Regions from separate parts of the Homo sapiens genome. Here regions 2, 3, 4, 5, 6 and 7 are each linked to region 1. Evidence: promoter capture Hi-C in 16 types of primary human blood cells and fetal thymus (Javierre and others, 2016). All regions are on one chromosome and are shown on one strand. The core of a region is centred on a gene start or on the middle of the fragment in contact, and the rest is flanking DNA. Distances in the headings are between cores, read along the strand shown. Region 1 holds the start of CYLD (CYLD lysine 63 deubiquitinase). Region 2 overlaps HEATR3 (HEAT repeat containing 3). Region 3 has its middle 4.5 kb from the start of ZNF423. Region 4 has its middle 17 kb from the start of CNEP1R1. Region 5 overlaps HEATR3 (HEAT repeat containing 3). Region 6 overlaps TENT4B (terminal nucleotidyltransferase 4B). Region 7 has its middle 20 kb from the start of TENT4B.

Region 1 (3,574 bases), core at 320-2,819:
TGGTCCCAGTGGTAACATGAGAATGTTTGCCTTGCCTAAAAGGACCCCAAATCTCTCTCCTTCACATTCTTTTCTCCTTCCTCCTTATCGTATGGGTTAGGCAAAAACAAATTTCAGCTGAAATTTTCTTCCAGACAGTTGGACTGTGACCTCTGAGTCCTACCAGCTTTGTTGGAGAATCCAGATGTAGATGAGAACGGTGTTGCCTAAGGCCACACTTCAAGCCAGGCCCGTTGATTTCCAACTTATGGCTTCCTACAGCAGTGTGGTCATGAAGCCTGGAAAACAGGAAGATAGGAGTGACAAAAGAGGGACAGGAGTAGAATGAGGCTTAGGTTTTCAAAAGATGCTCATTTCATTTTGGATGACTATGGCAAGGAAGAGTGGTGGCCTGTCTACTGCTACTGTTAGTCATCACTCATGTGACTGTTTTTATGTATTCATTGGTTTAAATTCCCTGGATCTCCAGAAACATGTCACTTTCCACTGGGGGAAATTTGTGTCATGATTAAAAACACACACACACACACACACACACACACACACACCCCTCCTCCTTTCTCAGTGTTAATCACCTTCTCCTATAATTAGCACTTAAAATGTCAAAGGAGAAGAAATTAATTAACAGGAGTATCCAGTGCAGCAAGGCTCTAGGACTGATTATAAAAAGCACTTCCTTAAATATTTTGAGTGCTTTTGGGAATCAGAAGCCTCCCTTCTAATTGAAAGATCCTTAACTACACCCTAAGTCCTGGCTGGTGGCCAGGGGTGCGGGGCTGAGTGAGGCGGCGTGTGGAAATCCCTTCTTCACCATCCTTGGGAAAATTCCCTCCAAACTGGGATAGGTGGCAACAGAGGTTCGGAAACAGCAAGCGTCCCAGGCTGAATCTGCGGAGGAGGAAGAGATGAACCTTTCCTGAGCTGGTACTGCGTGCCAGGAACTTTAGCTCGGTATTTTGCCACAATCCTGTAAGACAACCGATACTATGATCTCCATTTTACAGATGAGGACATTGAGGCTCAGCGTGGTTGTGACTTCCTCAGGTCACGCAGCCACTGAATGAAAGCGCCAAAGATTCAAACTGAGGTCTGATTCTAAAGCTTTGCTCTCTCACGGCATCCTGGAATCCTATTTCAACCTTCATCTGGACTCTTAACCCAGCCCAAACCTAAGCGTCTACAGTTTTGACAGCTGAGGCGGGAGCACGGGAGGCGGAGCTGGTGGCAGCGCAGCGCCCCGCCCCGGCTCCAGCATCAGCCAATGGTGACGCGGCACCCACAGCCTTTCGCCCAATCAGCTTGAGCTTCCCGCCTCCATCCGCCGCTCTTCTCTGCCCCGCCCCTTCGCTTTCCCTTTGGTTCCACCGAGCTTGACAGAGCGGAAAGTCCCTTCGGCCGGCGCCGGGCTGGCAGCCATTGGAGGAAGGTCTGTCACAGGGAGGCCCAATCACGGCCCGCTCAGGAGCGCAGCTCGGCCTACGATTGGCTAGCGCGGCGGCTGCCCCCTCCGCCCCCGCTCCCTCCCTCTTCCCTGTGCGGTTCGGAGGCGGGGCAGGTGGGGGCGGGCCCAGGTAGCAGGTTTGGCTGCGCGGGGGCCGCGCGTCGGAGGTAAATACTAGGGCGGTGGGTGTGGGGAGCCGGGGCCGGCCCGGGACGCGGGCTGGGGAGCCGGGGCGAGGGGCGACGCCCCGCCGCCCGAGGTTAGTGAATGAGCGGGCGGCTGGCGGCCGGCGGGCGGCCGGATCCCCTCGGCGCAGCCGCCTGGCCTCAGGGCGTCCGGAGCCGCCGCGGCGACCATCGGGCCCTCGGCGCCGGCCCGTTAGTTGCCCGGGCCCGAGCCGGCCGGGCCCGCGGGTTGCCGAGCCCGCTGACGTCAGCCCGGGTTTCCCCCCCCCACCGGGGCTTCCCCATCCCCCGAGGCTTCCCGGGAGGGCTGCGAGTCCGGGGAGCGTGCGGGGTCGCCACCATCGGGACCCCCAGAGGAGAGAGGACTTGGGGCGGGAGCCGCGCGGGACGCTGTCCCCCTCCCGCCCCCCACCCCATTTACAGATTGGGAGACTGAGGCACAGGCCGCTGGCGGGCCCCGACGGCCACGGTTGGCCTCAGGAGCCCGGGGCTGTGATTCCTACCGACCGCGCCGCGGGGCGTACGTACCGATCGATTTTGCGGGTGTTGGTGGCTCCCGTCCAGGAATGGCAGTCGGGGTTCTGGCCTTGTTAATGGCGTGTTCTGCTTTTTCTTTCAGTTTCCCCCTTTCTAGGGTGAGGATGGTTCTACACAGCCACCCGGAGTTCCTTAGTTGAAAGGTGCGCCCTGCTGTGACAGGTATTCTTTCTTTATGTTTTTCTTTCATGTTAACAATCGAGGGGGGTGGGGGGCGAATGGGGGGCGGGGGCGAAGTCATGAAATCTTCAGGAGATGGTGTTGAGTTTGGTACTCAGCTGGGTCAGCTGCCGGTTATTCATGTACTTGGCATCGTTTCTCTTCCACCCCTTGGCATTTGAATGTTTTAGGATAGTTGTCATCTTCCAGCCACCAAGCCTGTGGCCTTGCAGTCTCCCAGCCCCCATCATCCCTGCCACCTTCTTCTCCTCAATTTTTCCTGGAAAGTTTTATCCTTAGCTCAGCTAAGGAGCATGCCTACCTTGCTTTTGAATTCGGGCTAATTAGGGATCTTAATAAGATTGTTCATTTTGCAATCATTGGCTCTCAGAGAAGCACCCAGGCCTTGAGAGGGTGTTCGTTTGATTGTTGGCTTTCTACACACCCCCTCACGCCCCAAGTAGACTGAATGGCCTTAAGAATTTAGCCTCCCATTCCCCACTGAGCAGTAGGTGGATTTGAACTAGAACAGTATTAGGAGAAAATGATTTGCTGGAAATTCTTATTGAAGTAACACCCAGAACATTCTCTAATATTCTGCTGCAAAATTGTATAGTATTCTTGCAAATAAACCTTCCTCTGGGTGGTAACTTTTGTGAGAAGCAGATAAGGCTTGTTATATAAAGCACAACTAACATTAAGCAGCAATGATTTTTATAGTCTGGCACACCTAAACTGTGGTTTTGTTTGATTTAAGGAAGTCTCCAACACAGGGAGAGAGAAAGGAATAGTTATGTTGTTTATCAAACTATTAGTATTTTGTTCCTGATTTTCACACTATGATTTAAATTAGTTTTTTTTTCATTGGTTGTACAGAATTTATAAGCATCATACATGCTAGTTGAGGCTGTAGGAAGCTAGTATCAAATAAACCTCAAAACAACTTGGTTTCGTAATTGTGAAATTTTCCGTATTTGTTTCTTCTTATATGTATAACAATGAAGTGGTTTAGCATGATTTCATTTTATCTAGAGAATTACTGAAGTTTTAGGCAAAATTCATTAAATACTCCCAATTCCTGAGTCTTTTTCTCTTCTCTTTCTCTTGGTTTAATCCCTTAAACAGGAGGAGGAAATGCAATTTTGTTTTCACTGTTACCACTTGAGTCTTTCATTCATTTCTCTGTATTCAGTGCCTAGCATATGCCAGGCTCTCGTGTGGGCACTGGATAATATAAAAATGAAGGACTTGG
Region 2 (3,664 bases), core at 1,000-3,499, 630 kb before region 1:
TGTTTTTTGTTTGCAGATACGTAAAGAAGGGAGAGGTAACTATAGCACAGATCAGCTGTGTGTTCTTGACAATGTGAAAATGAATTTGCGAAGATTTATTGCTTATCAAGAAACTGTTGAGAAAAGACTGACTTCTTAAACAATCCAAAAAAGAAACCAGTTCTTCCCCCAAAGTATTCAATGCTTAGAATACTAAAAGGTTTTCTTTGAATGTATATGTTTCTGAAAGTCATTTTTTAATGATTACATTCTGTACATTCTGTAAAAACTTCAAAACCTGGCCAGGCATGGTGGCTCACGCCTATAATCCCAGCACCTTGGGAGACCGAGGCGGGTGGATCACTTGAGGTCAGGAGTTTGAGGCCAGCCTGGCCAACATGGTGAAACCGCATGCATAAGCATGGTGGCACATGCCTGTGATCCCAGCTACTCGGGAGGCTGAGGGAGGAGAGTCGGTTGAACCTGGGAGACAGAGGTTGCAGTGAGCTGAGATCACGCTACTGCACTCCAGCCTGGGTGACAGAGGGAGACCCTGTCTCCAAAAAAAAAAAAAAAAAAAAACTTCAAAACCTGTCAGAAACTCTGTTGCTGGTTTTTTTGTGTGTGTGTTTTGTTTGTTTGTTTTGTTTTGTTGTTTTTTTCTTTTTTGAGATGGAGTCTCACTGCTGCCCAGGCTGTATTACAGTGCTGCGATCTTGGCTTACTGCAACCTCTGCCATTCCAGGTTCAAGCGATTCTCATGCCTCAGCCTCCTGAGTAGCTGGAATTACAGGCACCCACCACCACACCTTGTTTTTGTTTTTGGTTTTTTGGTTTGTTTTTTTTTTTCAGTAGAGACGGGTTTCACCGTGTTGGCCAGGCTGGTCTCAAATTCCTGACCTCAAGTGATCCGCCTGCCCTGGCCTCCCAAAGTGCTGGGATTACAGGCATGAGCCACCGTGCCTGGCCAGAAACTCTTTTTTAAGTGATGAGATCTGTGTGGCATTTCTAGCGCTCTCTAAATTATGTCTCTGGCATATTTTAATCACTGGAAACTCAAAGAGTGGAAGAGTGGAAGTGCGAAGGAATCTCAGGTAGCTCTTAACTAATTCGCCAGCAGTGAAGAAACTTCAACCAATCATGTTTTCCTTGAATTTTGCAAAGAAAGAAAATCCAAAGCATTGCTTGGATGTTCTTTTAAGGCATTTTATATCAGTTGAACCTTAAACTGAAATATGAAGACAAGCTTTATAAACTAGTTTTTTGATATGAAGTATATCAATTATGTTTGCCTTTTGTGAAGAAGTAAATGAGTTGAATTTCTATTTCACTTACTAGATTATACTAATGAGCTAATGGGGTCATTGCCATCCTCCCTACTCATGACTTTGATGAGTTATTGCTGTAACATCACTTCTTGATTTAATTTGATATGGAATCAGAATTGGGAGAAGGTATTTTTAAATAAACAACTTTTTAATGGAAAGTTTTGTGTCTTACAAAATCTTTTTTAAGATACCAAATAAAGGGTTATTAGTAGAAAATGAGATGATACTATTCGTGGATATTTGTTTGCTAATGCATATTGCTTGGAATATATGTGAGACATTAAAAAAATGACAGCACGACTTTGCAGCATTACCTCTCAGTGTCTTCGAAGTACTAGGTGACAGCTGGGGCTCGAGGGAGTTTCCCTGTGCATCATTGTCTCGGCTGGGCCTCTGAACCGGCTTCATTGTCCATCCGTTTGCCTGATGAGAAGGGAAATTTGAAAATTTCTGTACAGTTGATCTCAGTTGCCCTGACAAAAGGCCCAATCCCCAGTACAGGACTTAATTTTAATTCACTGCTTCCACAGCAGCACAAAATGAGCTAGTAGTGTTAGATTTCATCTGCACTGTGATGTATTTTACAGTTTTCACCTATATGATATAGACTGTTGGGAAACCAAGATTGTTTCCCAGCCCTAAGAGTTCCTAGCCCATGGCACCAAGTAAAATAACCCAAATTGTGTATATGGTGGGAAAACAGAAATGTATACCATATACAACACCTCGCTTTATTATGGTCCTTGCTCATGAATTTTAAGGTATATATGTATGTTTAGTGATCATTTCAGCTAAATGATTGGCCCAAGCATGTCTCCTTGGAGAACGACTCTTCCAAAAAAGAAAGTATTAGAGTTCTCTCTGCCTCAATTATTTATAAAATATAATTATTTTCAAGGAGAAAAAAGTTCCTCATTCTGTTTATTCTTCCCCACAGTTTCTGACCTATAAACAATATCCAGGATATTTAGCACAGGACCTAGTATATAGTCGACTCTTCATAAATATTTGTTGAGTAAATAAATGCTGGTGATTTTCTCGTTGTTTTGTGTGTGATTTTCTGTTTTACTAAGCAAGCTCTAAAGCAGCTGTTGAATGCAGAATCATCCTTAAACACGGTAGAAGATGAGATGACACTGAAGATGTGCCATCCTAAAAATCTCTTAGATTCTGAGGCATGGATAATTGGGTCTGGATTTCTCCCATTCAACTTTACCACTCTAACGACACAAAAGAAGGGAAAACAACTCATAAATACAGCATACAGTTTTAACTATTTACATAATAACTCAATAGAGCATGCAAGTATTATTCATGGCACAGGATAATGGAGAGCTTTTTCTGTATGACCATAGGGGAAAAAAAGTCTGCTTTAAAATATACTTATTTGAAAATCACCCAGAATAGCCCGTTAGAAATACACACTGGAGGCCAAGCATTTTGGGAGGTCGAGGTGGGCAGATCACTTAAGGTGAGGAATTTGAGACCAGCCTGGCCAACATAGTGAAATCCCATCTCTACAAAAATACAAAAACTAGCTGGGTGTGGTAGCATGCACCTGCAATCCCAGCTACTTGGGAGGCTGAGGCAGGAGAAACTCAAACCTGGGAGGTGGAGGTTGCAGTGAGCCAAGATTCCACCACTGCACTCCAGCCTGGGCAACAGAGCAAGACTCCACCTCAAAAAAAAAATAATTAGCCGGGTGTGATGGCCCATACCTGTAATCCCAGCTACTCAGGAGGCTGAGGCATGAGAATCACTTGGATCCAGGAGGTGAAGGTTGCAATAAGCCAAGATTGCACCAGTGCACTTTAGCCTGGGCAACAGAGTGAGCTCTGTTAAAAAAAAGAAAGAAATATACACTGTTCAGGCATAGTGGCTCACACCTGTAATCCCAGCACTTCGGGAGTCCAAGACGGGTGAATCACTTGAGCTCTGGAGTTTGAGACCAGCCTGGGCAACATAGGGAAGCTTTGTCTCTGCTAAACATAAAAAAAATTAGCTGAGCTTGGTGGCGCACACCTGTAGTTTCAGCTACTTGGGAGGCTAAGGCAGGAGGATGGCTTGAGCCTAGGAGATGGAGGCTGTAGTGAATCATGATTCCATCCTAAGCAACAGTGCAAAACCTTTCTTAAAAAAAAAAAAAAAGGTTGGGGGCTGGGCGCAGTAGCTCACACTTGTAATCCCAGCACTTTAGAAGGCCAAGATGGGCAGATCACTAGAGCCCAGGAGTTCGAGACCAGCCTGGCCAACATGGCAAAACCCTGTCTCTACTAAAAATACAAAAATTAGCCGGATGTGGTGGCATGCCCCTGTAGTCCCAGCTACTGGGAAGCTGAGGCAGGACAATCGCTTGA
Region 3 (4,110 bases), core at 919-3,418, 880 kb before region 1:
GGACACCCTGACAGCGGCAGCGGGCGAGCGAGGCTCCCCAGAGGGGCGGAGGCCAGGACCGAGACGTCCCCTAACTAGACCTAAGCCTTGAGGGCCGCCCCTCCCCAGGTTAGCGCTACCATCCCCAGGCCACAGTCCTCCCCAGCTTGTGCGTCCAAGAGTGTCCAACATCTCGGCCTTCCCGGAGGGAATAGGAGCCCCCCCCCCCACGCCCCCGCGGCCCAGGGATGGACGGAGTTGGGCTGAACCGGGGGTGCCAAGGGCCGAGGCGAGGGCAGGGGCCGCGAGGCGCCTGGGAAGGAGCCAGGAAGGAGGGGCAGAATCAGCCGCTCCCCCACCCCCGCCGGCGCCTGGGATCGAGGCCCGCGGAGAGTGGCTGACAGGCGGCAGATGGCACACGCTGGGGGAGGGGGACGATTGGCCTCGGCTCTGGGGTGCCCCCGCCGCGGGCTGCCTCTGCTAGAGGTAGGGGGCGGGGAACGGCCCCCAGCTCGCCCGCCCAGGCTTTCTGGGGGGCTGGAGATTGCGGATCCTGCCCAGCCGGGAGTCTGGAGAGTGAGGGGGCGGACAAAAGGAGCGCGGTGGGGAATGCGTGTGCGGGACGAAAGAGGGGCCGTCGGGGGAGAGGGGTGGTTGGAGTCCCACGGGGCTGCCCTTTTCCACCCCTAGGGGCCTGCTGAAGACTGAGGACGGAGGTGGGGGCAACAGGATGGGGAGCCCGCAATAGCCCATCCTGACCTAATCCGAAAGGACGAGATCCTGGAGCCGCTCACAAAGTTTTCCGGGCCCCCTCCCACGCGTCGCCTGCACGTATGTCCGTTTCCCGACGCTCCGCCCTCCCCCGCCAAGTTCGGCGTCTCCCAGCTCAGCGGCAGTCAGGGTGCAGAGGGAGCCCGACCTTGTCCCCGCCTCGGCCCGTCCCGCTTCTTCTGAAGCTTGTTTCATTTTTAACTCCTTCCAGAAAAATGTTGTTTTAAGGAAAATCTCAAAGGAACAAAAAGCCAATAGTGCCTTCCTTATTTGCAATCCCCACCCACCTCTGAGCTCGGACTGCAAGGGCCTCAAGGGACACCAGGTGACACCTGGGCCTTGCTTCTCACGGGTGACCTTGGACCAGAAAGGGTCATTTTCAGGTGTGTTTTATACCCCCCACCTGCCTACTTCTGGCAGGGAATAGGGGGTCCAGTCCCCTCCCCTATGAGAAGGGGCCCCTCTGGGCTCTCCTTCTTCGCCGGAAAGTGAACAGCTGCTCCTGCCCTGCTTGGAGGAGTGGCTGTGGAAACCCACTGTAAGCTGTAAGGAGCAGGAGCCACCATCATAAATGCAAGAGAAATTCCAAGTTGAGGTTTTTGAGAACAAGTAAGACTTTGCCCACAAAAAGGTGCATCTTCCTTCAAAGTCATAACTTGGCTGGAAGAGGGGAAACCTCTTGCCCAAGGCGGTGCCTTCCCCAACCATGCTCCTTAAGAATGTTTTTCCTACATGTGCAGCAACTGAGGCTTCTTCCTTGAATTTTCAAGAGGCAGGCGTCATTTTGAGCAGTCTGGTGAATGCACGAGGGTCTGGTGGGCTACAAAAACAAGATAGGACAATAAAGAAAACAAGGCAGTGTTCACTTTGTGGCCTCAGACCTATGATCCCTGCAGAGCTCCCAGAGTTGCTCAAGGGATGCTTTCCAGTAAGTGACCAAATGCCCACCTTGGCCAGGTGCCGTGGCTCACACCTGTAATCCCAGCGCTTTGGGAAGATGAAACGGATGGATCACCTGCTAGGGAGGCCCTGGCTTATGCCTGTCATCCCAGCACTTTGGGAGGCTGAGATGGGTGGATCATCTGAGGTCATGAGTTCGAGACCAGCCCCAGCAACATGTTGAAACCCTGTCTCTACTAAAAATACAAAAATTATCTGGGCATGGTGGCACGTGCCTTGGTGGCATATACCTGTAGTCCCAGCTACTCGAGAGACTGAGGCATGACAATCACTTGAACCTGGGAGGCCGAGGTTGCAGTGAGCTGAGATCATGCCACTGCACTCCAGCCTGGGTGACAAAGTAAGACTCCATCTCAAAAAAAAAAAAAAAGAAAAGAAAAAGAAAAAACAAATGCCCACCTTTTCCCCTTCCAGGCACACACACATCACTTACTTTAAATGACAACAGTCACTTGAATATATACGATCTGGAATGAGTGGTTTTTGTTTACTGCTTTATTACTTGAAACTCCCAGTCCCTACTGTGGAGAATTTGCATCAGCCTATGAGGAGCAGTCATTTTGGGGAGGGATGATTTATCCCTTCAGCTTTTCCCCAGAGAATAAGTTCACTGCTTTGTTCCTGTGTTTATTCAACATTTATTTATGATTTTGCACTTACTGTGTGCCAAGACTGAGGGTAAAACAATGAATGAGAAAGATCGCAGTTCCTCCCTGTTGGGGCTTGCCCTCTAGTTGTAGGGGGTAAGGGGGGTGGCTGACTTAATAAATGGCCACGCAAGGCCAGTCGCGGTGGCACACATCTGTAATCTCAGCACTTTGGGAGGCTGAGATGGGTGGATCACTTGAGGTCTGGAGTTCGAGACCAGCCTGGCCAACATGGTGAAAGTCTCTACTAAAAATACAAAAATTAGCTGGGCGTGGTGGTGGGTGTCTGTAATCCCAGCTACTCAGGAGACTGAGGCATGAGAATTGCTTGAGCCCAGGAGGCAGAGGTTGCAGTGAGCCAGGATCACGCCACTGCACTCCAGCCTGGGCAACAGAGTGAGACTCTGTCTCAAATAAATAAATAAATAGCCACAAAAATAATTATTTACTTATAGTTTTGATCAATCCTGAGAAGAAATTAAAATATAGTACAAAGAGGCCACAAAACAGAGTCTCAAAGGTGGTCTGCTGAGAGCCCTATGGAGGAGGAGGAAGGAGCCAAGCGGGGGGATGGAGAATAGAGTTCCCAGCTGTGAACAGTGTGTGCAAAGGGCCTGGGGCACAAAGGAGCTGGAGGCTTCTCAGCGAGAGTTGTCACAGCTCAGGCAAAGGCCACCATGGCCAGGCTTAGGAGCCAATTCCATCCATTTTCCAGTCCAGCTTCCCTCACCACCTAGCTGAAGAACCCGGAGCAAGGGAGCCCGTGTTCCAGTTTTGCATCTGCAAAATGAGAAAACGGATAGCACGGATCTCATAGGGTGGTCCTGAGGGTTTCTCATCTGTCCATGCTGCCTGTCTGGCCACAAGACAGCAGTCATCTGGCCTTCGCTGTCCTCCCTTACCTTTTCTCTCTCACCTTCACCACCTCCGAGGTCAATCATGTTCATAGAGATGCCAGTTACACAACTGCAGATCCCCTCCTTGCACCAATAAGTTCCTCTTTCTCCCTGGTATTTCCTTGATTCAGACTTGCCCTTGCTTTCTAGAAGCTTTCTATCTTCTTTATGTCTATTGAGAAGGTTTTGTGCATTTGCGTTTTATTATTTTATTTATTTGTTTATTTATTTTTTGAGACAGAGTCTTGTTGTATCGCCCAGGCTGGAGTGCAGTGGCACGATCTCGGCTCACTGCAACCTCCGCCTCCCAGATTCAAACAATTTACCTGCTTCAGTCTCCCAACTAGCTGAGATTACAGGCATGCGCCACCATGCCCAGCTAATTCTTTTGTATTTTTAGTAGAAATGAGGTTTCATCATATTGGCCAGGCTAGTTGTGTTTTATTTTAATGATGCATCTATCTGTAGAATCCAAGTTTCCCTGAACACTCCTGTTCTCAGGGTACTGAGGAAGCAATGACCATGCTCTCTGGTCAAGCCTTCCAGGAGATGGCCTAGCAGCATGATTGTTAACCAGCAGCTGCCACAAGCCCAGGTCTTCCTCACCTCTTCATCATTATTTGCAGGGTTCTTCTCACAAGACTTGGTCTTGAAGCTCCTGAGGGTTCAGAAGAGAGGAAGGCAAGATCGAAAAGAGAGTCCTTTCCTCTGCTTTTAGTTCTCAGCCTGGTGTTTTGAGGAGGGAAATCCCTGCAGATGCTCCTGAAATTCCCCAGAGGTCCCCATTGTCCCCCCCTCCCCATGACCACAACTCAAAGAGGCCAGCAGTGGACCCAGACATCTGCCTCTCTGGGGCT
Region 4 (3,822 bases), core at 610-3,109, 700 kb before region 1:
AAAACTTTTAATGTCAAATGAATAGGACTTCGCAGAGGACAAAAGAAGAAGCAATTGAGCATAAAGCCTACCACCAGCACCACTTCTTCCATCATATTTAGCCTGTTACAGAAATAAAAGTTCCATGATCACCAATATTTGGGAACTACTACATCCTCCTCCTGGAGATTGTTCATGCTGTAAAGCATATTAAAAGCTCCATGTTGGCTGGGCACGATGGCTAATGCCTGTAATCCCAGCTGCTTGGGAAGCCAAGGCAGGCAGATCGCTTGAGCTCCGGAGGCCGGGGCTGCAGTGAGCTATGATTGTACCACTGCATTCCATCCTGAGCGACAGCGTGACACTCTGCCTCAAACGAATGAATGAATGCATGCATGAATGTCCCGAGTGGCCCTGCAGTAGAGAAACCTGTTAAACTGCCTGCTTTTCTGCCATTTCACCAAAGACTTGTTCACATTATTTGGGGGACAGAGAGTGTTTGTTGTGGTTTCTGTCTGTCCAGTTGCTCTTTTTTAATTGGAGAAGAGGCATGCAAATGTATTGAACATCCCACAGAGAGAATCACAGAGTGGTTGCCTTGCCCAGCTCCCTCTGAGCACCCGTGCTAGATTTGGGGAATGCTGGCTATGTCAGTCCATCCTCTCTCAGGACAACCCAGAAAACTTTGGACTCCTGCATTTGGGACCCAGGCATGCGAGGAGGTGGTAAAGCTGTGTTTCCGTGGCAGGGCACTCAGTGGGACTCAGTGGTGGTGGCATCAGTTTCCTCATCCGACCAGTTCCGTAAGATGGGTTTGGGCATTTTTTTTCTTCTGGAACTTTAGCCTTGAACCAGTCTCTCTAGACCACTCCAAAATCCTGAAGTACCCAATATCCTTTAAATAATTGGCTTTCAGTTTACTCAAAGTCAGCTTCTCTTGCTTGCTTGACTGCTAGAGTGGTACACAGCAGTTGTGTTCCAGGAGCATGCTGTGGAGAGTTGATCTAACAGATGAGAGTGCTTCCAATCAAGCCTCATGCCATCTGGCAGGTAAGAGAGCTCAGGGCCACGTGCAGTGGAAGGACCCAGACTTGGCAGATCAATGTGGATTACAGTCCCATTTCCTCCATTAGCCAGTGGGGCAAGTGACTTATTCTCTCTGAACCTTAATTTCATTTAGGCCTATTAGATAGCTATCTTGCAGAATAGCTAGAAGGATGAAATGAAATAATGTATGTAAAAGATAGCTTTCCAGCTTTTTTTTTAAAATCACAAACTAATTTTTGAGTCGCTATTCTGAGTACTTGTTATAGGTGTATCTTGAGTACCCAAGAGTGCTGGCATCTATGGAAGATGCTCAATTGCTGTTGAACAAATGGATGAATCTTGACTTTGGTATTGAAACTGAGTTTTTATATAAATACGTAAATACACTAAAACATAAATTTTATTTATTTATTTATTTTCAGTTGGGGTCTTGCTCTGTCACCCAGGCTGCCGTGCAGTGGCACAATCATGGCTCACTGCAGCCTCCAACTCCTGGGATCAAGCAATCCTCACACCTCAGCCTCCCAAAGTGCTGGGATTACAGGCTCTCACCATTCCTAGCTAACTTTTTAATTTTTTGTAGCGACAGGGTCTCACTTTGTTGCCTAAGCTGGTCTTGAACTCCTGAGCTCAAGTGATCGTCCCACTTTGGCCTCAGATTTGTAATTTAAGTAACGGTAGAGAAACTAAAATAACTAAGTCTATTGTAAGTTCATTAAGTAAATTAAAAAAGAAATATATCCTTGCTAGAAGATGAGTTTTAAATTCTGTCTCCTACAATTATCAGATTTATTTTTTTTCCTGACCTACCCTGAAAACCATTTAAAAACAAATTGTTCTGGAATGTTTTAAACACATGCAAACATAGAGAGAGTGGTATAATGAACTCCCATCACCCAACTTGAGCAATTATCAACATATAGCCAATCTTGTTTCTTATACAGGTTCAGAATCCTTTATCCAAAATGCTTAGGACAAGAAGTGTTTCAGATTTCACATTTTGGAATATTTGCTTTATGTTTACAGGTTGAGCATTCCAACTCCAAAACTCTCTAATCTGAGTGCTGCAAAACAAGCATTTCCTTTAAGTGTCCGGTTAGCACTCAAAACATTTTGGGCCAGGCATGGTGGCTCATGGCTGTAATCCCAGCACTTTGGGAGGCCGAGGCAAGCGGATCACCTGAAGTCAGGAGTTCAAGACCAGCCTGGCCAACATGGCAAAACCCCGTCTCTACTAAAAATACAAAAATTAGCCAGGCGTGGTGGCAGGTGCCTGTAATCCCAGCTACTTGGGAGGCTGAGGAAGGAGAATCACTTGAACCTGGGAGGCAGAGGTTGCAGTGAGCTGAGATTGTGCCACTGCACTCCAGCCTGGGCGACAGAGTGGACTCTGTCTCAAAACAAAAACGTTTTGAATTTTGGAGCTTTTCAGATTTTCGATTTTCAGTTTTGAGATGCTCAGCCTACCCTATTTCAACTTGCTCCCTCACCCCCACAAAGGATTATTTTGAAGCAAATCACAGACATCACTTGATATAGAAATCTTCCAGTAACTATCTCCAAAAGTTAAGAAAAATTTTACATATAACTACAATACTATATCATACCTGAAACGCTAATAATTTTGTAGCAATTTTATACCAAATATTCTGCTTAAACTCCTCCAACTGTCCCATAAATGTATCCTTTAGAGTTGGGTTATTTGAATTGAGATCCAGAAAAGGATACTTGAATAGTAGCAATTGCACAACCTAGGACCTAGGTTTCTGAAATCCCTGTTTCTGAATTCTATCTGATTACATATGTGAACTCAATTTATGCATATGGAATACACTTTCAATAAATGACATACAGTTAGTGGATGGATGGGTACAGACATTTTTTTTAAAAAAAGGAGAGAGATAACAAAATGACGTACAGTGACTTCTGCTGAGATCTTCCACAATAAACCAGCAGCATTATCATGGTGAACATCACTACCATCTCTTCACGTGCTAACAGCCACATGGGAAATGGGACTCCAGCATGCAAGGCACAACGCATCCTTAGAGAGCACCCAGTCCCGATGACAGCATGGGGTTAGGAAGGAGACCATGAGGAAGAAAGTGGAATGGGTATGTTTAAATGTATGCAGCGATAGACAAAGATGTTGGACATTAGGGGAAAAATAATGACAAATTGATGGAAAACCAGGATAAGAAAAAAAAGGCGATTACTAATTCCAAGAACAAAGAAAGGAATTGTGGTTTAGTGGGCTTCTTAGTTCAGCAGTGAGCAAAATTTGCATTGTCCTAGAAATTTAGAGTGATTTAATAGAGAATTCCGGTACAATTTTGTGGGGCAAAGGAGAAATGTGGGAGAGAGTTTTGGAGAGCTAAGTCCTTACCTATCAGGCCAGCAAATCAAAAGATAATATATGATACTGATAAATCAGAAAGCGTGATAGCTTATCATTTGGGAATACAGAGATAATAACAGGAGAAACAGAAGGGGTCGGAGTGTTTACTTCCCATAGAGGGCTTGGGATTCTAGAGAAGGCAAGAACCTGCTGTTCTGTTCTTTTCTTCTTTCTTTTCTTTTCTTTCTTTCCTTTCTTCCTTCTTTTTCTTCTTTCTTTTCTTTTCTTTCTTTCTTTCCTTTCTTTCTTCCTTCTTTTTCTTCTTTTTTTTCTTTCTTCCTTCCTTCCAGAATTTCTTTCCTTCTCTTCTCTTCTCTTCCTCTTCTCTTCGACTGCGTCTTGTTATATTGCCCAGGATGGTCTTCAACTCCTGGATTCAAACGGTCCTCCTGCCTCTG
Region 5 (4,080 bases), core at 20-2,519, 660 kb before region 1:
AGTGTGTGTTAGCGCAGCCATTCCAAGAAAGACATCTAAGCTAAGCATCTAAAAGCAGGTTTGGTGTTTCTAAGTGCCTGGTGTCTGAAATGAACTCTTGTTTAAATCTTAGTATGCCCAGCTACTTCTTGACACAGTAGATAAGTTTCAGGGTGAATTCTGTTCAGAATTCCTGAATATTTGTCTGTTCTCTCCAGCTAACTAAGTGACGCTTGGGGAATAGCCATGCAGATAGATGGAAACCCAGTTAACGGGGGCATGCTCCACTGTACCAAGAGGAATTATAATGCTCGTTTGTACTTCTGGCACTTCATGACTTTTCTTTTACCTACCCCATTCCCCGTGTGCTCTATTCCAAGCGCAAAAATCTTCTAGTAGGCTTTCACTAAGGAAATTCCCCAAAAACATTTTCCCAACCATTGAGAGTTGGTCATTTACTTTTTTTTTTTTTTTTAAGCCCACTGACAAGGAACTGAGAGAGACTATAGCATTGCTGACAGCCCAACAGACTGCTCTGGAAATTATTGTCAACATGTGCTGCAATGAAGGTTTGTTAACATTTACATTTAGACATTTTCCCCCTGAGCCAAGAGGGAAACTCCCGTGGAGATTTTCTTAACTATTCCAGTTCTGCGTGGTTTGCCCGCTTCCCAGATCCCTCTGATGACGAATGGGAAGAGCTTTCTAGCAGTGATGAAAGTGACGCATTTATGGAGAATTCCTTCAGTGAGTGCGGGGGACAGCTGTTTTCTCCCCTCTGCCTCTCCCATGAAGTTCACACGGCTCTCACCAACTACCTCATCCCAAAGAAGGTAATCCATTTTCATTCTAGGCTTACCGTGGAGCATGGGAAAGGCTTAAGCAAGGTATTCATTTTGTGTACAAAAGAAGCAAGCTCACACTTCCAGGTTGTAGATGGTGGTAAGATCTGAGACAAAGCTGAGCCTAACAGTACTGGAAATAGGCGAAAAGGTCATTCTATATGAAGCCTAACCATTTCACTTAGGAGTAATATGTTGGAATTATGTAAGGGAATCGTGTTAAATGACTACTCTTTAACCTTTGCTTTACTGCCTCTTTTAAATCTAGATTTTTGAGAAAACTGCCTTTCCAAACAGCATTGCAGTTGACCTATGTTCTAGGAACCCTACTTGGAAACCTTTGATTAGAAAGTAAGAACTCTTCTGCTTTCAAAAACATTTGTCATTATTTTATTTTATGAAATGATGGGCTATTAAATAGAAGGTGCTGACTCCCCCTAGGACCCAGAAGTTTTGTTCCTGGGTATATATACCAGAAAAATATGTGCCCACATGCCCTAGAATACATGTATATGAGAGTGTTCATAGCAGTGTGTGTCACAGTTGCCCCAACCCATAAACAAACGTGTTGTCCATCAGAGTTAGAATGGTAAATAAATTTTGACAAAATCACGCAGTACAATACATGCAGCAGTAAAAGGGATCTGAATTAGAGCTACTCACAACTCGGATGGAACTTACATTGTTGAACCAAAAAAGCGAGACATAAAAGAATACACACACTGTGATTCAGTTTTTACAAAGTTGAGAAACAGGCAACATTGAACTATTTTGTTCAGGGATGCATACCTTGGTGATAAACCTATTAAAAAAAAAAAGAGGCAAGGAAATGTTTACCATAGAAGTCTGTATGGTGCTTACCTGTAGGTGTCAGGGAGGTGGGATATTATATGGAAGAGATACAGGGGCTTTCAGGGTCCAGCAGTGTTAATTTCTTTCCCAGGTGCATGGGTTTTGGTTTCATAGACTGTTTGTTAAACTCTCTATGTATGTTGTGTACTTAACTGTATATATGTCACATTTCACAATTAAAAATAATTTTAGGCTGGGCATGGTGGCTCACACCTATAATCCCAGGACTCTGGGAGGCCAAGGTAGGAGGATCACTTGAGGCCAGGAGTTTGAAACCAGCCTGGGCAGCATAGCAAGACCCCATCTCTACAAAGGAAAAAAAAATACAAAAATTAGCCTGGCATAGTGGCACTCAGCTGTAGTCCTAGCTACTTAGGAGGCTGAAGTGGGAGGATTGCTTGAGCTCAGCAGTCTAAGGCTGTAGTGAGCTATGATGGTGACACTGTACTCCAGCCTGGGAAACAGAATGAGACCCTGTCTGAAGAAAATTATAATTTTAAGGATGCTACCCTACATAGAAATTTTTCTAAAACATATTCCTCATGACTCATGAATGAGTTGTGTATCAGAGGCCGTGAATATTCAAGCAGTTTGATTTGGCAGATTAACAGTTCACCTTATAATTCTAGCACTTTGGAAGGTACAGGCAGGAGGATTGTTTGAGGCCAAGAGTTCCAGAGCAGCCTGGGCAACATAGCAAGACCCCTATCTACAAAAAATAAAAAACTTAGCCAGGTGTGGTTGCATGCACATGTAATCCTGCTCCTTAGGAGGCTGAGGCAGGAGGATCACTTGTGCTCAGGAGGTTGAGGCTACAGCGAGCTGTGATCACACCACTGCACTCCAGCCTGGGCAACAGAGTAAGACCCTGTCTAAAAAATGATGATAAATTTTAGAAAACACAAAAAACAGTTCACCTTGTGATTCTTTGCTAACTGCCATAGATACCTTGTATTTACAGATATTTCCAGTCAGAACGTGAAGCTTAGGCTAAAAGTTAATACTGAATTCTGATGGGCAACTTCTGGAGAATCAGATGGCATTGTTTCACTTCCTTTCCAGAATGAACACTATTCAGTGCAGAGCCCTCTTCTGTCTCCAGAGTCTTGTGTCCCTCCTGGATGTGGAGCACCTGGGAGGAGCCGCAGCCCTTCAGACGCTTGCACAGCATCTGTCACAGCTGCTTTTTTCTCAACCAGGTATTTAGACTTTATTGCGAAAGACTACGCAGACGGAACAGAATTTTGAAGGGGCAGGAATTTGGATTTTGTAAATGTATATTGTTTGTCATCCAATGTGCAGAAACCTTTCCCAGACACAGGAATCATGTATTTATAGTTGCCATGGGGTACAGAGTCAAAACGAGGTATGCAAGCAGCTCCTGGGCTTATAATTTTCTTTTTTGTTAAAATTGTTTGCATCCAGTTATATCAGGCCAGTCAAGGCTGTATCATAAATATCATAAAGGCCTCATTAAGGTATTTGGATAATTCTCAGCCAAGCACGGTGGCTCATGCCTGTAGTCCCAGCACTTTGGGAGGCCGAGGCGGGAGGATCACCTCAGGTCAGGAGTTGGAGACCAGCCTGGCCAACATGATGAAACCGCTCTACTAAAATACAAAACTTTAACTGGGCGTGGTGGTGGAGATGCCTGTAATCCCAGCTACTCGGGAGGCTGAGGCAGGAGAATCGCTTGAACCCAGGAGGTGGGGATTGCAGTGATCTGAGGTTGTGCCATTGCACTCCAGCCTGGGCAACAAGAGCAAAACTCCATCTCAAAATAATAATAATAATAATTGAGTACTATTCTATTATTTTCTTCCCAGTTACAAGCATTTAAGTTTGATTAATATATGTATGTAGTACAGAATTCAAAAGTTATTAGAGGACAGAAACTGGAAAGCCTCCCTCCTTTCTCCGACACCCAGTTCCTCTCCCAGAGTCAAGTTACTGTTGCACCAGTTACTTGTGTATCCTTCCAGAGAGATTCTCCATGTATAAGAGAGCGTGTGTATGCGGGCATGCGTGCGTGTGTGTAAGGCAAATGGTAGAATACCATCCACACAATTCTACACCTTGCCATCATCTAACATGTATCTTTCTTCAAACACCTTTGCATGGTAGGAGCTGATTCTCTTAAGTTACAGGTCTCTGATACGGATTAATTTCATATGCACACAAAGATCTATAGCGATACAAGAGTTAAATTAAATATTCTTTTAAATGACCTAGCTGTAGGTTTCACTTGGAGGGAAAAACAAAAAAAACAAAAACTAGCTGTACAAAGTCCAATGCATGTTCTTCTAACAGATTTTCATAGTTCCTCATAGTAAAATCTTACTTAATTTGACCACATTAAACTATAGGAGCTCAAACCAAACAAAAACAAGAGAGACTGAGAGAGAAG
Region 6 (3,768 bases), core at 869-3,368, 560 kb before region 1:
GTGGTCTGAGAGCATACCTTGTATGCTTTCTATTCTTTTCAATTTGTTAAGGTGCTCTTTGTGGCTCAAGGTGGTCTACTTTTTTTTTTTTTTTTTTTTTAAAGAAAAGCTGGCCAGGTGCAGTGGCTTATGCCTGTACTCCAGCACTTTGGGAGGCGTAAGTGGGAGGATCACTTGAGGTCAGGAGTTTGAGACCAGCCTGGGCAACATATAGAGACTTCACTTGCACAACAAATTTTTAAAATATTAGTTGGGTATGGTGGCATATACCTGTATATGGCTGAAGTGGGAGGATTGCTTGAGCCCTGGAGGTTGAGGCTACATGAGCCATGATCGCACCACTGTACTCCAGCCTGGGCAACAGAGTGAAATTTTGTTCTCTCTTGAAAAGAAAAAAAAAGTTGATGACATAAAGTTCATTCATCTTTTTTGTATGTGACTTCAAAATAACTACTGATGGTTAAAAAAAAAATCAGAATGATGCAACCCAAGTGTCCATCAATGGATGAATAGATAATATGTGGTGTATGAATACAATGGGCTACTATTATTCAGCCTTTAAAAATAAGAAAATGCTGACACTGCTGTAACATGGATGAACGTTCAGATCATTATGCTAAATGAGAAAAGCCAGACACAAAAGGACAAATATTGCATGATTGCACTTATATGAGGTATCTGGAATATAAGAGTCATAGAAACAGTAATTCAGTAATTAGAATAATGCTTGCCAGGGCCTGTGGGGAGGAGGGAATGAGGAATTCATGTTTAATGGGTACAGAGTTTCATTTGGAAAAGATTAAAAAGTTATGGAGGTGGATGGTGGTGAGGATTGCACAACAGTGTGAATGTACTTAATACCACTGAACTGTACACCTAAAAATGATTAAAATGGTACATTTTATGTTACATATGTTTTACAACAATTTTTACAGATGGAAAAAAATTATAAAAAACATCAGGATGGTGTTGACAGTGAAAAGGTTAAAGAGTTACTTTAAAAATTTACTTTATTCCAGCCGGGTGCGGTGGCTCACACCTGTAATCCCAGCACTTTGGGAGACCGAGGCGGGTGGATCACCTGAGGTCAGGAGTTTGAGACCAGCCTGACCAACATGGAGAAACCCCGTCTCTACTAAAAATACAAAATTAGCCAGGTGTGGTGGCGCATGCCTGTAATCCCAGCTACTTGGGAGGCTGAGGCAGGAGAATCGCTTGAACCCGGGTGGTGGAGGTTGCAGTGAGCCGAGATCTTGCCATTGCACTCCAGCCTGGGCAACAAAGCGCAACTCCGTCTCAAAAGAAAATTTTTTTTTTTTACTTTATCCCAAATGTTTATATTTACTTTGGGGCTTATGTGACCAGTTTAATTTTCATTTGTAATTGACTTGATAGAACACACTAATGTTCAGTTAAGATTTCTTATGGTGTGGTGAGGAGTAGGATTTTTATGTAAATAAGCCCAAAATTGTATATATGAGGTTAATCTGATATTTGCAGAAGATATTCATGCATTACTGTAAGGACCACTCTGCTTATTCATTTGACCGATTTGTTACAACATGGTTAGAAATCATCAAGGTGTTTGAGATCAAAGGATCTTCAGAGGTGATTTACTCCAATCCTTTTTTAAAAAATTAATAACTTGAGCCTCAGAGAAGTTAAGTGACATTACCAAGTTCTGCTGTTAGTATAGTGACTTTATCTTTACCTGAATCCAGGGTTTCTTAGCCCTAGTCTGTAATGTGTCCTAGTGTGCCTCTAGAATCTGGTCCTGTCAGCCCAAGTCTGTTAAATCAAATAAAACCAGGGCTTGGTGCTTCACCTTGTCTTCTGCCATACCGTTGGGTTTCCTGTGGACCATGCAGATAATGATGATGGGCTCAGTGGGCTTGATAGTGATAACTCCTAAAGCAGCTCCTTCTAAGTGCGGTTCTCAATCTGAGGAAGTTAAAAAAAAAATTAGTGACTAGAACCCACTTCTCAGGTACTCTGATAAAATACATTTGTAGGGGAGTGATAGTTTTCACTTTCTTTTTTTCTTTTTCTTTTTTTTTTGAGATGGCGTCTCGCTCTTTTGCCCAGGCTGGAGTGCAATGGTGCGATCTCAGCTTACTGCAACCTCTGCCTCCCAGTTTCAAGTGATTCTTCTGCCTTAGCTTCCTGAGTAGCTGAGATTACAGGTGTGTGCCACCATGCCTGGCTAATTTTTGTATTTTTATTAGAGACGGGATTTCACCATGGTTGGTCAGGTTGGTCTCGAACTCCTAACCTTGTGATCTGCCTGCCTCAGCCTCCCAGAGTGCTGGGATTACAGGCATGAGCCACTGTGCCCAGCCTTCACATATTTTTTGAAATAATAGGCCAGTTGCGGTGGTTCATGCCTGTAATCTCACACTTTGGGAGGCCGAGGTGGGCAGATCACTTGAGGCCAGGAGTTCAAGGCCACCCTGGCCAACATGGCGAAACCCTGTTTCTACTAAAAATACAAAAAAATTAGCCGGGTATGATGGCATGTGCCTGTGGTCCCAGCTACTCTGGAAGTTGAGGCATGAGAATCGCTTTAACTTAGGAGGTGGAGGTTGCAGTGAGGCAAGATCGTGCCCCTGCACTCCAGCCTGGGTGACAGAGCGAGACTCCATCTCAAAAAAAAAAAAAAAAATCGTATGCAGTAAAGGTTGAAAACTGCTGCCCAAAGGCGCTATTAAACTATAGGTTCCCAAACCTGGCCAATTGTCAAAATCCCTCAAGAAGGGGCAGTGGGGTCTAAGGGACCCCATTGCTGTAGAGGAGATTAGTAGTCCAAGAGTGAGATGAACTGTTGGAAGTCCTCAAACTTCCAAACTATTAAAATAGAATAGTTTTGCTTCCTTAAAATAGAATAGTTTTCTTCCTCACTGATTTTTCTGTATTGATTAGAACCATAACAAGTGAATTAAACAACTACAAAATAGTTATGTGGGCCACAGACATTATTGTAATGAAGTGAAGTTTGGCTCAGGCCTTGTAACACAATTGCTTTTTGGATTAAAAGTAAAAATATTAAATTGTGAAATTATGTGTAAGTTTTAAAAAATTGGTCTTGTACAAAAGTGTTGGGTTTTTCTTTGTTTTTAACTGGATTTGTTTTTAAGCAAGACAGAATATTTATATTGTTGGAGAGTCACAAAGGAGGTGTGTTTGTGGATTTAAATGTGGAGACAGTGTGCCTTGAAATGCCCTTTATCAGTCTGATTCAAGCCACCTGCAATCATGGATTTGAACTTTTTTTTTTTTTTCCCCTGAGATAGGGTTGCCTAGGCTGGGGTGCAGTGGTGTGATCTTGGCTCACTGCAACCTCTGGCTCAGCCTCTTGGAGTACCTGGGACTATAGGCACACAACATCATATCCAGCTATTGTATTTTTTTTTTTTTTTTTTTTTATAGAGACAGAGTTTCACCATGTTGTCCAGGCTGGTCTTGAACTCCTGAGCTCAAGCAACTCACCTGCCTCGGCCTTCCAGAGTGCTGAGATTATAGGTGTGAGCCACCATGCCCAGCCTTCACTTTATTTAAAAACCATAGTTTTTAAAAGCCACATTCCTACTGATGAACACAGAGGTTGTTTCCAGTGTTTTCATTTGCAGGGCTGTAGTGATTGTTTTTGCACATGCCTCTTTATGTACATGTGCTGTGTCTTCTGGGACAGAGAGTGGACATTTTAAGTGTTTTATTGGTCCTGCTAAATTGTCTTTCAGCCAAACTGCTGCAGAGGTGATGGAGATGAGG
Region 7 (3,742 bases), core at 421-2,920, 610 kb before region 1:
ATCTTATGTTACATGATAAAATGAGAGGAAAGAAAACAAAGATATTTGCTACACAAACGTGTTCATAATAAAATAAGGAGGAGGCCGGGAGTGGTGGCTCACACCTGTAATCCCAGCACTTTGGGAGGCTGAGGTGGGCAGATCACGAGGTCAGGAGATTGAGACCATCCTGGGTACGGGTGAAAACCCGTCTCTACTAAAAATATTAAAAAAAATATTAGCCGGGCGTGGTGATGGGCACCTGTAGTCCCAGCTACTCAGGAGGCTGAGGCAGGAGAATGGCATTAACCCAGGAAGTGGAGCTTGCAGTGAGCCGAGATCACGCCACTGCACTCCAGCCTGGGTGACAGAGGGAGACTCCATCTCAAAAAATAAATAAATAAATAAATAAATAAATAAATAATAAAAAAAATAAATAAATAAAATAAGGAGGAAATATAACAATTACAGTCCTCATTTCTGTAACCAGTCATGTGGTCATGGCTGTGTATTTATTTATAACTATCTTCCTCCACTACCCCATTCTGTATTCCTTTTGCCTTCAGCAAACACCTCAGGTGGTCATGGTTCTTTATTTGGTGTTGTGATCCAAACCTTCATTCCTGAAGGACCTGGGCCATATATAGTCCTGTCTGGATTGGATTGTTGTATATTTTTCCGTTCCACTTAATCAGAGGGCGTGGTCATACTGAGAGATGCTCTGCAGGATCTCATGAATTGCAGACATACTCTTTCTTACCTCCATTGTGGAGTAGTAGTCCAAGTTTCCCTTGGTAGTCAGAATCAATTTATCTAGCCACTAGAGGATTCCCTTCTTTTTTTGTTGATTCAGGGTATTAAGGAGCCCAAAGTGGCTGGGCAGTAGCCTTAACTTCCAGCTCAATGCAATTATTGTTGTGTCTCCAGATGGAAGCATTCCTTCTTCTGGAACTAAGAGCTCTAGACCAGCAGAGCATAAAGTTGTGAGAACAGGAACCAAAAATTTTGCTACTGGGTCACTAGAAGTAATAGTGGTTCAGCTGGGCACAGTGGCTCATGCCTGTAATCCCAGTGCTTTGGGAGGCTAAGGCAGGAGGATTGCTTGAGGCCAGGAGTTTGAGACCAGCCCAAACAGCATAGGGAGACACTGTTTCTAATATATATATATATATATACATTTTTTTTCTTTGTTTGTTAAACAAGCTGGGCATGGTGGCAAGCACTTGTAGTCCTAGCTACTTGAGAGGCTGAGGTGGGAGGATTGCTTGAGCCCATGAGTTTGAGGCTATAGGGAGCTATGGCCATGCCACTGCTCTCCAGCCTGAGCAACAGAGCAAGACTCTGTCTAAAAAAAAAAAAAAAAAAAAAATTGGTGAAGGGTGCCACTCCCATTTCCACCCTTGATTCCTGACTGTGATTTCCTGCTGTAAGAGAAACAGCACCATGGCCAGGCGCGGTGGCTCACACCTGTAATCCCAGGACTTTGGTAGTCCGAGCCGGGTGGATCACCTGAGGTCAGGAGTTCAAGATCAGCCTGACCAACATGGCAAAACCTCATCTCTACTAAAAAATACAAAAATTAGCCGGTGTGGTGGCAGGTGCCTGTAATTCCAGCTACTCAGGAGACTGAGTCATGAGAATCGCTTGAACCCGGGAGGCAGATGTTGCAGTGAGCCGAGATCACACCATTGCACTCCAGCCTGGGCGACAAGAGGGAAACTCTGTCTCCAAAAAAAAAAAAAAAAAAAGAAAGAAAGAAAAAAGAAAAACAAAACAAACAGCACTGTTTTTGGACGCTGATTCAGAGCATATACAGCCTTCTGGTGAACCTTGCCCTAGCCCTCCTAGCTGGTACTGTAACTAAGTCTTCAAAAGACCCTTTCACTGTTTCATCAAACCAGCTACTTCAGAATGGTGGGAAAAGACCAGTGAATTCCATGAGCTTGAACCCATTGCTGCATTCCTTTTGCTGTGTGTTCGTTGATGAGAAGCAATGTTGTGTGGAATACCAATACCATTACAATGGATAAGACATTCTATAAGCCCACAAACGGTAGTTTTGGTAGAAGCATTGTGTGCAGGGAAGGCAAATTAATATGCTGAGTAAGAGTTTATTACAAGCCCACACAGTGGTGTGCACCTGTAGTTCTAGCTACTTGGGAGGCTGAGGCAAAGTGGGAAGATTTCTTGAGAACAGGAGTTCAAAGCTGTAGTGTGCTATAATCATGCCTGCAAATAGCCACTGCACTCCAGCCTGGGCAACACAGCAAGATCCCATCTCTAAAAATAAAAAATAATAATTAAAAAAAATTTTTAAAGAATCTATTACAGTAAGAACAAAACACTGTCCCTTCCATGATAGAAGCAGTCCAGTGTAATCAACCTGCCACTGGGGAGCTGGCTGATTTACCCCCCGGGGAATATCAGGGACTCAGTCTTGGTCTCTGCTGCTGATGGATTGGGCACTCACCAGTGGCCATAGCCAGGTCAGCTTTGATAAGTGGTAGTCCATATTCCCAAGCCCATGATTAACCTCCATCCCTGACCATGGCCACTCTGCTCATGAGCCCACTGGCTGATGAGGGGGTGGCTGGAGAAAGAGGCTGATGGCTATCCACAGAATAGGTCATCCTATCCACTTGATTTTTAAAGTCCTGCTCTACTGAGGTCACCCTTTAGTGAGCATTCACATGGGAGACAAATATCTTATGATTTTTGCTCATTCTGCGAGGTCTATTCACATACCTCTTCTCCAAATTTCCTTGTTACCAGTTTTCCAATCATATTCCTTCCAAGTTCCTGAACATCCAGCCAAACCATGGTCCACAGCCCATGGGATTGGTATATAATTGCGTGTCTGACCATTTCTTCTTCCAAGCAAAGCATGCTGCCTGAAGTTTTGCCACTGGGAAGATTTCCCTTCACTGCTGTCCTTAAGGGATGTCTCAGAGAGAAGCTGTAGTGCTGTCCACTTTCAGATGGCACACACGTATTGTGCAGAACCACCTGGAAACCAGGCCTGTCCTATCTTCCTCTGTCAGCTGATTATAGGGACCTCCCTAAGAGGCCATAGGTACAGAACGGGAGACAGAAGGCAGTGTAGCGGGGCGGGGGACCGTTGGTATTTGTGCCAGTCCTTCATTAACTTACTTGTGCCTTCAGGGCCTGCTTGAACTCAATCATGTATATACCACTTCCATTTGATGGTGGAGTGCTCCTGTGCACATCCAAATTTATGGCATTGGAGATCAGATAGCCCCCAGTTTGTGATGGGTAGCTCAAGTCGCATTGTAACTTGGTGGCCATGGTTGAGCATTCAGTCTTTTTTTTTCCCGAGATGGAGTCTTGCTCTGTCACCTAGGCTGGAGTGTAATGGCGCAATCCTGGCTCACTGCAACCTCTGCCTCCAGGGTTCAAGTGATTCTCCTGCCTCAGTCTCCCAAGTAGCTGGGATTACAGGCACATGCCACCATGCCCGGCTAATTTTTGTATTTTTAGTACAGGTGGGCTTTCACCATGTTGGCCAGGCTGACCTCGTGATTCACCCACCTCAGCCTCCCAAAGTGCTGAGATTACAGGTGTGAGCCACCACGTCTGGTCAAGCATTCAGTCTTTACCAAGGCTCAGGAGCAGGCCAAGAGCTGTCTCAAAAGGAAAGTAAGCTGAAGGATGGCAGGGCTCTGCTGCAAAATTCTAAGGATCTGAGCTATAATCCACCTACAGGAACCTGCTAAAGACTCCAAACAGCACCCCTGTCTGCCAC

The links. The method cuts DNA at HindIII sites, captures the fragments that hold promoters and counts their contacts. A CHiCAGO score of 5 or more calls a contact.
Region 2: a contact is called between a fragment that was not itself captured here and the fragment with the promoter of CYLD in region 1, in 4 of 17 cell types (monocytes, M0 macrophages, naive B cells and 1 more). The highest score is 6.6, in monocytes.
Region 3: a fragment that was not itself captured here is called in contact with the fragment with the promoter of CYLD in region 1 in 1 of 17 cell types (monocytes); the score reaches 5.4 in monocytes.
Region 4: a fragment that was not itself captured here is called in contact with the fragment with the promoter of CYLD in region 1 in 2 of 17 cell types (neutrophils and total CD8 T cells); the score reaches 9.1 in neutrophils.
Region 5: a fragment that was not itself captured here is called in contact with the fragment with the promoter of CYLD in region 1 in 10 of 17 cell types (monocytes, naive CD8 T cells, naive CD4 T cells and 7 more); the score reaches 9.6 in monocytes.
Region 6: a contact is called between a fragment that was not itself captured here and the fragment with the promoter of CYLD in region 1, in 10 of 17 cell types (total CD4 T cells, naive CD8 T cells, naive CD4 T cells and 7 more). The highest score is 8.0, in total CD4 T cells.
Region 7: a contact is called between a fragment that was not itself captured here and the fragment with the promoter of CYLD in region 1, in 1 of 17 cell types (neutrophils). The highest score is 5.9, in neutrophils.

What each region holds. Positions count from the first base shown.
Region 1 is chr16:50,740,517-50,744,090 of GRCh38, forward strand. CYLD (CYLD lysine 63 deubiquitinase) reads left to right here and starts at 1,570. Exons shown (of 19, transcript NM_001378743.1): 1 at 1,570-1,608; 2 at 2,246-2,325. It overlaps CYLD-AS1 (CYLD antisense RNA 1), which reads right to left and starts at 2,231. Exons shown (of 7, transcript NR_184279.1): 1 at 2,155-2,231; 2 at 812-888; 3 at 164-278. It overlaps MIR3181 (microRNA 3181), which reads left to right and starts at 1,789; the gene lies at 1,789-1,861. RefSeq lists a silencer at 1,385-1,984 and an enhancer at 2,225-2,324. The HindIII fragment of the contact is 2,791 bases long and covers 1,100-3,574 here.
Region 2 is chr16:50,104,923-50,108,586 of GRCh38, forward strand. HEATR3 (HEAT repeat containing 3) reads left to right here. Exons shown (of 15, transcript NM_182922.4): 15 at 17-2,350. The coding sequence ends at 139. Among named protein-coding and RNA genes, the nearest start is that of HEATR3-AS1, 40 kb to the left of the region's middle. The HindIII fragment of the contact is 2,053 bases long and covers 1,224-3,276 here.
Region 3 is chr16:49,858,521-49,862,630 of GRCh38, forward strand. It overlaps a transcript of ZNF423 not described here. Among named protein-coding and RNA genes, the nearest start is that of ZNF423, 4.5 kb to the left of the region's middle. The HindIII fragment of the contact is 2,471 bases long and covers 934-3,404 here.
Region 4 is chr16:50,039,912-50,043,733 of GRCh38, forward strand. No RefSeq gene overlaps it. Among named protein-coding and RNA genes, the nearest start is that of CNEP1R1, 17 kb to the left of the region's middle. RefSeq lists a silencer at 133-333. The HindIII fragment of the contact is 9,784 bases long and covers 1-3,822 here.
Region 5 is chr16:50,083,480-50,087,559 of GRCh38, forward strand. It overlaps HEATR3 (HEAT repeat containing 3), which reads left to right. Exons shown (of 15, transcript NM_182922.4): 8 at 458-548; 9 at 655-812; 10 at 1,090-1,172; 11 at 2,736-2,872. Among named protein-coding and RNA genes, the nearest start is that of HEATR3-AS1, 19 kb to the left of the region's middle. The HindIII fragment of the contact is 2,772 bases long and covers 1-2,655 here.
Region 6 is chr16:50,178,064-50,181,831 of GRCh38, forward strand. The region is part of intron 1 of TENT4B (terminal nucleotidyltransferase 4B); the gene reads left to right. Among named protein-coding and RNA genes, the nearest start is that of TENT4B, 27 kb to the left of the region's middle. The HindIII fragment of the contact is 5,075 bases long and covers 1-3,768 here.
Region 7 is chr16:50,131,335-50,135,076 of GRCh38, forward strand. No RefSeq gene overlaps it. Among named protein-coding and RNA genes, the nearest start is that of TENT4B, 20 kb to the right of the region's middle. The HindIII fragment of the contact is 5,770 bases long and covers 1-3,742 here.